Regions from separate parts of the Homo sapiens genome. Here all the other regions are linked to region 1. The links are contacts of gene promoters, found by promoter capture Hi-C in blood cells and fetal thymus (Javierre and others, 2016). All regions are on one chromosome and are shown on one strand. The core of a region is centred on a gene start or on the middle of the fragment in contact, and the rest is flanking DNA. Distances in the headings are between cores, read along the strand shown. Region 1 holds the start of CD2BP2 (CD2 cytoplasmic tail binding protein 2). Region 2 holds the start of KIF22 (kinesin family member 22). Region 3 overlaps QPRT (quinolinate phosphoribosyltransferase).

Region 1 (2,700 bases), core at 172-2,671:
CCCCTGGGCCGCACCCAGTCAATGTTGTCCAGCCAGCTGTCTCGGATCTGAGCATCCCGGTTCAGGAAGTAGTTGCCATCGGCATCAAAGTGGCCTTCCTCCATCTCCTCCTGCAGGTTAAAGGGTGTGATCCGAACACCCCCCTCGCTGGGGAGTGTGGCTGCCTCCTGACCTGCACCAAAGACACAGGTGCCCTTTTCCAGGCATGGAAAAAAGAGACCGGAGCCTCCCTCGCTCCACACCACCAGAGGCCCCTACTTGTTTTTCCAGCAGAGTGTATTCTTGGGTACAGCTTACCTTCTACATCCTCTGAGGCCAAGATGTCATATTTGCTGGACCCCCCATCATCATCATCCTCCTCCTCATCGCTATCCAAAGAGTGTTTGCCTTTAAAGCGGCTCCCAGGACCCCCTGACCCAGCCACAGGGTCCACCAGCTGTGAGCAGGAGCCAGAAAGTTGAGAAATGCAGGTTACTGGCTACCTCCCCAAATACTTCCGGATCTGGACCCAAATATTCCCCAAATATTTCAGGATCTCGACTACTTCCCCAAATATTTCAGGAGCCACACTAAAGACGCTCCCAACCCATTCCTCAGAGAACCTGAAAAAACTAGGCTTTTCTCTGCCTGCCCGCCCCGCCCCTCTCCCGCCAGCTTTCTTCCTCTTCAGGCTTCTAGCTCCTCTTTCCCCCACACAAAGCAGTCTGGCCCCCTCACCTTCTTCTTGGGGACAATGATTTCATCCTCATCCTCCTCATCTCCCACGCCTTGGAAGGTCACTTTCCTCTTTGGCATGACGGGGCAAAGAGGTGTTTCTCAAGCTGAGGAAAGGATGCAGAGGAAGGGAACCGGGTGAGGAGGGGACTCGCCAACAGACGCAGCACAGCAAACATTTTTCCTGGTCTGTGACAGGTACAGTTTGGGAGCGGAGGGAGCACAAAAGCAGGGGCCGAAAGGAAGCTGGCAGCCAGGAGGCCTCCAGGACTTGGGTCTAGCATCCGCGAGTTAAACGGGGCGGGGACGGAGGAGCGGACCCTCTGGATCCCCCGACCCTGGCTGAAAGGAGACAGGCTTCACCACGTGACCGCCCCCAACTCCAGCCCCCGCAGTCTGCGCGCCACCGGCTCCACGGGCTGACCCCCGCTCTCTACCCTGGCTCTCTCGGAGCTCGCCGGGCCCCGGCAGACCCAGGACCTGGCGCTCTCGCCACCCCGTTCCTCCCTGCTCCGAACTCCCAATTCCGTGTGGTGAGCCCCAACTGTCCCGGGCTGTGTACAACTTAGAGGGCCACGGGGATTCGGGCGGTCCCACCCTCGCGCACTCACCTGGGAATCCGCGGAAGGCGAGGTGGAAAAAAGAAGAGATGCTTGCGCCAGGGCTACATCCGGGGCACCCGGCCGCCATCACCCGGAAGAGGACTGCGGAAGGCGCCCGGGAAGCCCGGAAGTGGCTTCACTCGGGTTAGGGAACTAACTGGAAGAGCGGGCGGAAGTATGCGATAAGCGAGCGAAGACGCCTCCACCCTCTCTCCCGCCAGAAGTGACGTCAGTCACGTGGGAGGACAATGGTGAGAAGAGGGAACCTAAGAATTCCTGGACTCTGACTGGGCGTGAGAAATGGCCGGAAGTAGCTTCGAGTCCGTCATTCAAGCAGTAGAGGCTCTGGAGAAAAACTGGAGCGCATCTGCTTAAAGGGCCGCCCAGGGTCAGGATGGAGGGGCAAAGTCCGAGCAGGGTCAGTGGGTTGCTGCTCCGTTTTCCTGTCCTGGGTTCAAGTCACCCTTCCCCCAGGGCTAAGGGCTCAGCGCCCCTACCGTCTCGTTAGAAATCCTGCCTTCCCATTCCTATGGTCCAGTGGTCAGCCCTCCTAGCCTGAGAGGTGCAGCCTTGCCTCTCCGAGGGGAAGCCTGACTCTCCCGATGGCCAGCCTGGGGCCCCTGGACGGCTCTCCGGGCACTTTCTGAACACACCTCCCTTTAGGACCCAGGGGAAATAATTTGTCCCACGCCCATACCCTGGGCGAGTTCCTGGTTTCTGAGGTGGGAGAGCCATCACTGGAGAGGTGGCATTGGCGCCAGTACTCAGGCCAGAAGCCCCTTGTGCCCTGCTCTCAGGTAGGCCTGGAAAAGGGCAACAGTGCCTCTCTGCAGCATGAAGCCCCCCTGAGCAAACAGGGCCTAGCAACTCCTGCCCAGGTAGCGGAATGTGGCCCAAGCAGAAGGGGGAATTGGGGAGGTAGCGGGGATCAGCCCCTGTGCTGGGACCCCTAGCTCTTGACACTCGGAGCCTGCATCCCCCTAAGCCAAGACTGTGCGCAGGCAGCACGTGCTGAAGCCAGACGAGGACAGCATGAGAGTTCCCCTACTCTTCCCCCAGGCAACTAGATGGGCCACTTCTCTCTCCCTAGGGGTTTCCTCCCATATTGGATCACGATGAAAACTGCACAGAAAGTCCGTGCTCAGTTTCTTCCATGGTTACAGAACACAGGCCCCAGACCAGGAAGGCATTCTGCTAAAGAAGGGGACCCGAAACCTCAGCTACCAGCGCCGATGGTTCATCCTCCGAGGAAACCTCCTCTTCTACCTAGAACACTAGACCGACCATGCACCCCTGAGCCTCATCCTGTTAGAGAACTGCCAGGTGGAACCACACCTTAAGGCTGCAGAACCCTATGCCTTTACCATCCTGACCCCTGGGGTGG
Region 2 (2,998 bases), core at 240-2,739, 560 kb before region 1:
CACACAGTATATACGGCCAGGCCTGGTGGTTCACACCTGTAATCCCAGCACTTTGGGAGGCCAAGGCGGGTGGATCACTTGAGGTCAGGAGTTTGAGACCAGCCTGGCCAACATGGTGAAACCCTGTCTCCATAAAAATACAAAAATTAGCTGAGCGTGGTGGTGCACACCTGTAATCCCAGCTACTCGGGAGGCTGAGGCAGGAGAATCACTTGAACCCAAGAGGCAGAGGTTGGAGTGAACCGAGATTGAGCCACTGCACTCTAGCCTGGGAGATGGAAGTGAAACCCCGTCTCAAAAACAAAAAAACAAAAACCCTCATATACACAAAACATCTTTGGAGGCCTCATTTTTAAAAACTGTAGTGGGATCCCAAGGCAAAACGTTTCAGAAACACTGATCTAAGATTTGTGTTTTTTGTTTTGAGACGGAGTCTCACTCTGGCGCCGTGGCTGGAGTGCGGTGGCACCATCTCGGCTCATTGCAACCTACACCTCCCGGGTTCAAGCGATTCTCCTGCCTCAGCCTCCCGAGTAGCTAGGACTACAGGCGTGCCACCATCCCCGGCTAATTTTTGTGTTTTTAGTAGAGACGGGGTTTCGCCATGTTGGCCAGGCTGGTCTCGAGCTCCTCACCTCAGGTGAGCCTCCCGCCTCAGCCTCCCAAAGTGCTGGGATTACAGGACTGAGCCACCGCGCCCGGCCCGTGTTTTGTTTTGTTGTTCAACAGGGTGGAACATAATGTCTAAACCTGGGCCCTACCTACCTGGTGCTCAAAAGTGGAATGACCGTCCCTAGCCAACCCTTCAGAAAGGACAGAGAGCTACTCAACGGACTGCTGTACTCTTAAGGACTGGGAACCGGAACCGTGGGTGAGTGGGACTGAATCACAGACTAAGCGTTTTCCACGCTTCGCCGACGTGCTGAGTGCCAAGTTATAAAGACAGGAACATCCAAGCTGCTCTCCTGGGCTGACACGGACGCGAGGGGACCTACAGTGGCCTTGGGCCCAGCAGGCAGCGACTGCAACGTGACTGCCCAGAGTCCAGCCCCTGGGGCCCAGATCTACAGAACCGACCAGACGTGATAGCCCTTTGGCTGGGGCTGCAGTCCCACGATCCACACAACGACCCTGGCTCCGCAGACGCGCCAACCACCCACGGAGGCAAGAAACTGCAGAAAGTAAAGGGAAAGGGAGCCCAGTGCCGGGCGGCGCTGAGCAGCTCCCCCAGCGGCCACCGTCGCCAACATCCCTGCGTAGGGGTTTGTATCGCAGCGCGCTTCCAGACATCAACGGCTGCGCGGCCCACGCGCGCGCATGCGTCCTGACCAGGGGAACCTTTTCTTGGGGACCCGGAGGCGAGCGCTGGAAGGCGGGATAGTGGCGACCCACACGCAGCAGCTTCCGGCGGCGCGTAGTCTTGATTGGTGGAACCTGGGAGAGGGGGCGGGGCACCGGGGAATTCGAATGGGAGAGGCGGGCCCAAGGAGGGAGTGGAATGGCCGCGGGCGGCTCGACGCAGCAGAGGCGACGCGAGATGGCGGCAGCTTCAGCGGCGGCGATCTCAGGTACTTGAGCCCGGCCTGGGCAAGGCGGGTACCGACGTCTGGAGTTTAGTGGGAGTTATGTGTCGGAGTGTGGTCCAGGCTCTGCGGGTTGTCGCGGAGAGGCGGCCATGGCGCAGGGGCGGGGAGAGGGGGACGGTGAGAGTGTGGGGTCGCGAGCCGGTCGCCCCGCCTGGCTCCTGCCTTCTCCCTGTTTCCTGCTCTCCCCTTGGGTCAGTAGACTCGGGTCTCCGGTCCAGGCTCTTGGCTTGAACCCCGCGCACTTTTTCTTTGTGAGCTTCGGTTTCTTCGTCTGTGAAACGGGGGTCATGGCCTCATCCCTGGAGATCACCTGAATAAGCAAGAGAAGAGTGGCGGACGCTCTAGCCACGAGGACGAGAAGAAGGGAGCCGGAGGCGTGTATTGGGAAGGGTTCTGTGTGGGACATGGTGTTTGGGTGCAGAGACATCCCTGAGAGATGCAAGAGGACGGGCTGAGGAACAGACCCGGCTGCTGCTGGGTTTGAGTTGGCAGCGTAAGATGCTCTGCGATTACAGGAAAACGAAATAAAAGACTAAAATTTCCTTTCACTCTAGCATGGAAGTGAATGCTATTTTAGGGTTGGAAAGGCTGTTAGGACACCCAAAATCTTGTATGTGAGTATTTGTTTACATGTGCCTCTCTAACCCGGAGACTTAATCCTCGTTAGTGATGATGGTGAGCGCCATAGTAATTCACTGGAGCCCTCGTTAGCCTCGTGGGGAAACAGACATTTAGGAGAATGCCTAACACATGTAGAGCTCTTGCTATGTGCCAGGCACAGTTGTAGGCATTTTATGGTGGTGAACCATTTATTGTCCACACAATGCTATCAGGTTGTTACTATTACTGTCTTTGTTTTACACAGGAAACTGAGGTTAGTTTGTTCAGAGTTAACACAACTAGTAAATATTGGGGCTTGAATTCGCTCTCAAGGAGTCTGAGTGTAGAACCTCTGCTCTTAACCATTATGCCCAAGTACATGTTATCCCTGCTGGCTGAGCACAGTCTCCCCTTACCCTTCGAAGATGCACTGTGTCCGGTGCATGGTAGATATGAAAATGCCTGAATGAATAATGTCCCTTCCTCGAGGAATTTACAGTCTGTTTCAATAGAGTGTCACATACGTAGATGTAATACGAAACACAATGAGAGATGTGTATAAACTGAGGGTGTGGAATCTGAAGTAAGCCCTTGAGTATTCTGGGAGGACTTCATTAAGGGAGTGAATGATACTTGAGATGGGTTTCAAAGGTTGGATAGGAGTTTGCCAGGCCTTGACTAAGAAGACAAGAACAGCAAGTGTTTTCTTATTTATGATGTAAGATGCTCTCTTAGCTCAATTTCCTCATCAATAAAAGGGAGAAGAGTGAATGAAATTTAGGAATTGTGAAAGAAGGGAAAATTAATAATTG
Region 3 (2,771 bases), core at 129-2,628, 660 kb before region 1:
AAACAACCCCAAAGTCTGGTTTCCTTATTAACCCCAAGTTCATGGTCCACCCGAAGCTTTTCAAATGTCAGTCCCGGCTCCCCGCGCCCCAGCTGCAGTGCTGGGCCCTATCGTCACCCTCGCCCTCCCGGCTCCCTGCGCCCCAGTGCCAGGTGCTGGGCCCAGTCCTCACCCTTGTCCTCCCGGCTGCCCAGCAGGCGGTGCGGGCGGCCAGACAGGCGGCTGACTTCACTCTGAAGGTGGAAGTGGAATGCAGCAGCCTGCAGGAGGCCGTGCAGGCAGCTGAGGCTGGTGCCGACCTTGTCCTGCTGGACAACTTCAAGCCAGAGGTAAGGTGGGCTCTGCCTCCGGGGAGGGATCTGTGGTGGGCTCTTACCTCCCCTTGGCTTGTGTCCCGCAGGAGCTGCACCCCACGGCCACCGTGCTGAAGGCCCAGTTCCCGAGTGTGGCTGTGGAAGCCAGTGGGGGCATCACCCTGGACAACCTCCCCCAGTTCTGCGGGCCGCACATAGACGTCATCTCCATGGGGATGCTGACCCAGGCGGCCCCAGCCCTTGATTTCTCCCTCAAGCTGTTTGCCAAAGAGGTGGCTCCAGTGCCCAAAATCCACTAGTCCTAAACCGGAAGAGGATGACACCGGCCATGGGTTAACGTGGCTCCTCAGGACCCTCTGGGTCACACATCTTTAGGGTCAGTGGCCAATGGGGCACATTTGGCACTAGCTTGAGCCCAACTCTGGCTCTGCCACCTGCTGCTCCTGTGACCTGTCAGGGCTGACTTCACCTCTGCTCATCTCAGTTTCCTAATCTGTAAAATGGGTCTAATAAAGGATCAACCACATGGGGTTCTGCGGTGATAATGAGCACATAGTGAGGGGTCAGCAAATGTCAGAAGTTACCTGGGACAGCCGGGCACGATGGCTCACACCTGTAATCCCAGCACTTTGGGAGGCTGAGGCGGGAAGATCACTTGAGTTCAGGAGTTTGAGACCAGCCTGGCCAACATGGTGAAACCCCATCTCTACCAAAAATAGAAGAATTAGCTGGGTGTGGTGGCACGCGCCTGTAATCCCAGCTACTTAGGAGGCTGAGGCAGGAGAATCGCTTGAACCCAGGAAGTGGAGGTTGCAGTGAGCTGATGGTGCCACTGCACTCCAGCCTGGGTGATAGAGCGAGACTCTGTCTCCAAAGAAGAAACAAAGGAAAGAAAGAGAGAAAGAGAGAGGGAGGGAGGGAGGGAGGGAAAGGAAGGATGGAAAGAAAGGAAGAAAGGCAGGCAAAAGCCCCAGACAGGCCAAAACCTTCATCCTTCATGCACCCAACCTGTACCAAACACCAGCATGGCCTGGCTGTGAGTGCACAGCAGATGGAGGTTTGCTGGGCAGAGACACTGGGCTGGCCTAGACACTGCCTTTGGTGATACCCTAAACCAAAGGGGCCAGTCCCACAGTAAGAAGGAGACCACTACTACTCCTGCTGCCCTCCTCCCCCCACCTTGCCTAGTTTACAAGACAGGAGGAAAGAGAGAAAGCAAAAAGTTAGAAAACAAAACAAAACAGAAGTAAGATAAATAGCCAGAAGACCTTGGCGACACCACCCGGCCCTGGTAGTTAAAAAAAAGTAACAATAATAATAATATCAACCCCTGACCTAAACTACTTGTGTTATCTGTAAATTCCAGACATTGTATGAAAAAGCATTGCAAAACTTTCTGCTCTGTTAGCTGATGCGTGTAGCCCCCAGTCACGTTCCCCGCTTGCTTGAGATATCATGACCCTTTCACGTGGACCCCTTAGAGTTGTAAGCCTTTAAAAAGGCCAAGAATTTCTTTTTCAGGGATCTCAGCTATTAAGATGCAAGTCTGCCAATGCTCCTGGCCAAATAAACCTCTTCCTTCTTTAATCCGGTGCCTGAGGAGTTTTGTCTGTGGCTCGTCCTGCTACAAGAGGACACAGCCCAGAGGTGCCACCTGCAGCTGCCCTGTCCCCTCTAATCCCAGCTCCACCCTGCCTGCTCCCGTCCTTCCTCCAGGGGGAACATGGACACGCTCAGATGAACCCCAGCTTCTTATGCCTGAACTGGGGAAACTGAAGCCCCATGGGACCAGGGGTTCCACTGGGCATCAAGGGAGGAAAGTTGAGCCCCGGGGTGATCTGGGAACTGGGATCTGGGATCTGGGCAGGCATTGGGGCCTGACAGAGCAGAAGTGAGGAGAGGGTACCAGGAGCTGCAAACTCGGTGCCTCCAGGACCTATTCGGATAAAATAAATGGGTGGAACTGGAATAAGACAAAGTGGGGGTGCGCTGTGGCCAACTGGAAAATGCTCGTTGCAGCCACAGCGTTCCATTAAAAAAGCGAAAGGAACCTGCCTGCCTGAGTCTTAAGCTCCCCCTAAACCCAGAAATGGGTTAGCCCTCCAGTATCCTCCAGCTCTGAGAGCTGGGGCGGGCACTCCATTACTGGGGGAACAGGAAATGGATCCTGGGCACTCTAGGGCAACACACGCCCTCCTTGCAGGGAAATGGATTTCCAGGCAGGGGAGATGCATGGGCAGAGGTGGCTTGGATTGTTTGCTGTAAGATTTGAAGCTGTGATCAGGAGGTGGCTAGGAGATGGGCTGGGTCCAGACCACAAAATGGTAGATCGGAGGATTTGGACTCTGTCTCATGAGTGAGCTGGAAATCAAGCTGGAAAATCAGATAAGCTTATTCGCAGCTTCAATCCAGTCCGTTGCAGAAGGATGCATTTGAGGGGGCTAGAGCAGCTGCAGG

Evidence for each region. The method cuts DNA at HindIII sites, captures the fragments that hold promoters and counts their contacts. A CHiCAGO score of 5 or more calls a contact.
Region 2: a contact is called between the fragment with the promoter of KIF22 here and the fragment with the promoter of CD2BP2 in region 1, in 2 of 17 cell types (neutrophils and monocytes). The highest score is 6.9, in neutrophils.
Region 3: a fragment that was not itself captured here is called in contact with the fragment with the promoter of CD2BP2 in region 1 in 1 of 17 cell types (neutrophils); the score reaches 5.1 in neutrophils.

Annotation. Positions count from the first base shown.
Region 1 is chr16:30,353,887-30,356,586 of GRCh38, forward strand. It overlaps CD2BP2 (CD2 cytoplasmic tail binding protein 2), which reads right to left and starts at 1,422. Exons shown (of 7, transcript NM_006110.3): 1 at 1,326-1,422; 2 at 718-821; 3 at 298-436; 4 at 15-172. The coding sequence starts at 795. CD2BP2-DT (CD2BP2 divergent transcript) reads left to right here and starts at 1,548. Exons shown (of 2, transcript NR_184233.1): 1 at 1,548-1,734; 2 at 2,407-2,700. RefSeq lists enhancers at 436-1,387, 472-1,671, 1,362-1,656, 1,388-2,339, 1,394-1,453 and 1 more. The HindIII fragment of the contact is 7,065 bases long and covers 1-2,700 here.
Region 2 is chr16:29,789,262-29,792,259 of GRCh38, forward strand. It overlaps KIF22 (kinesin family member 22), which reads left to right and starts at 1,490. Exons shown (of 14, transcript NM_007317.3): 1 at 1,490-1,568. The coding sequence starts at 1,499. RefSeq lists an enhancer at 901-1,300. The HindIII fragment of the contact is 11,757 bases long and covers 1-2,998 here.
Region 3 is chr16:29,696,799-29,699,569 of GRCh38, forward strand. QPRT (quinolinate phosphoribosyltransferase) reads left to right here. Exons shown (of 4, transcript NM_014298.6): 3 at 198-329; 4 at 401-1,901. The coding sequence ends at 613. Among named protein-coding and RNA genes, the nearest start is that of QPRT, 19 kb to the left of the region's middle. RefSeq lists a silencer at 2,655-2,771. The HindIII fragment of the contact is 2,648 bases long and covers 55-2,702 here.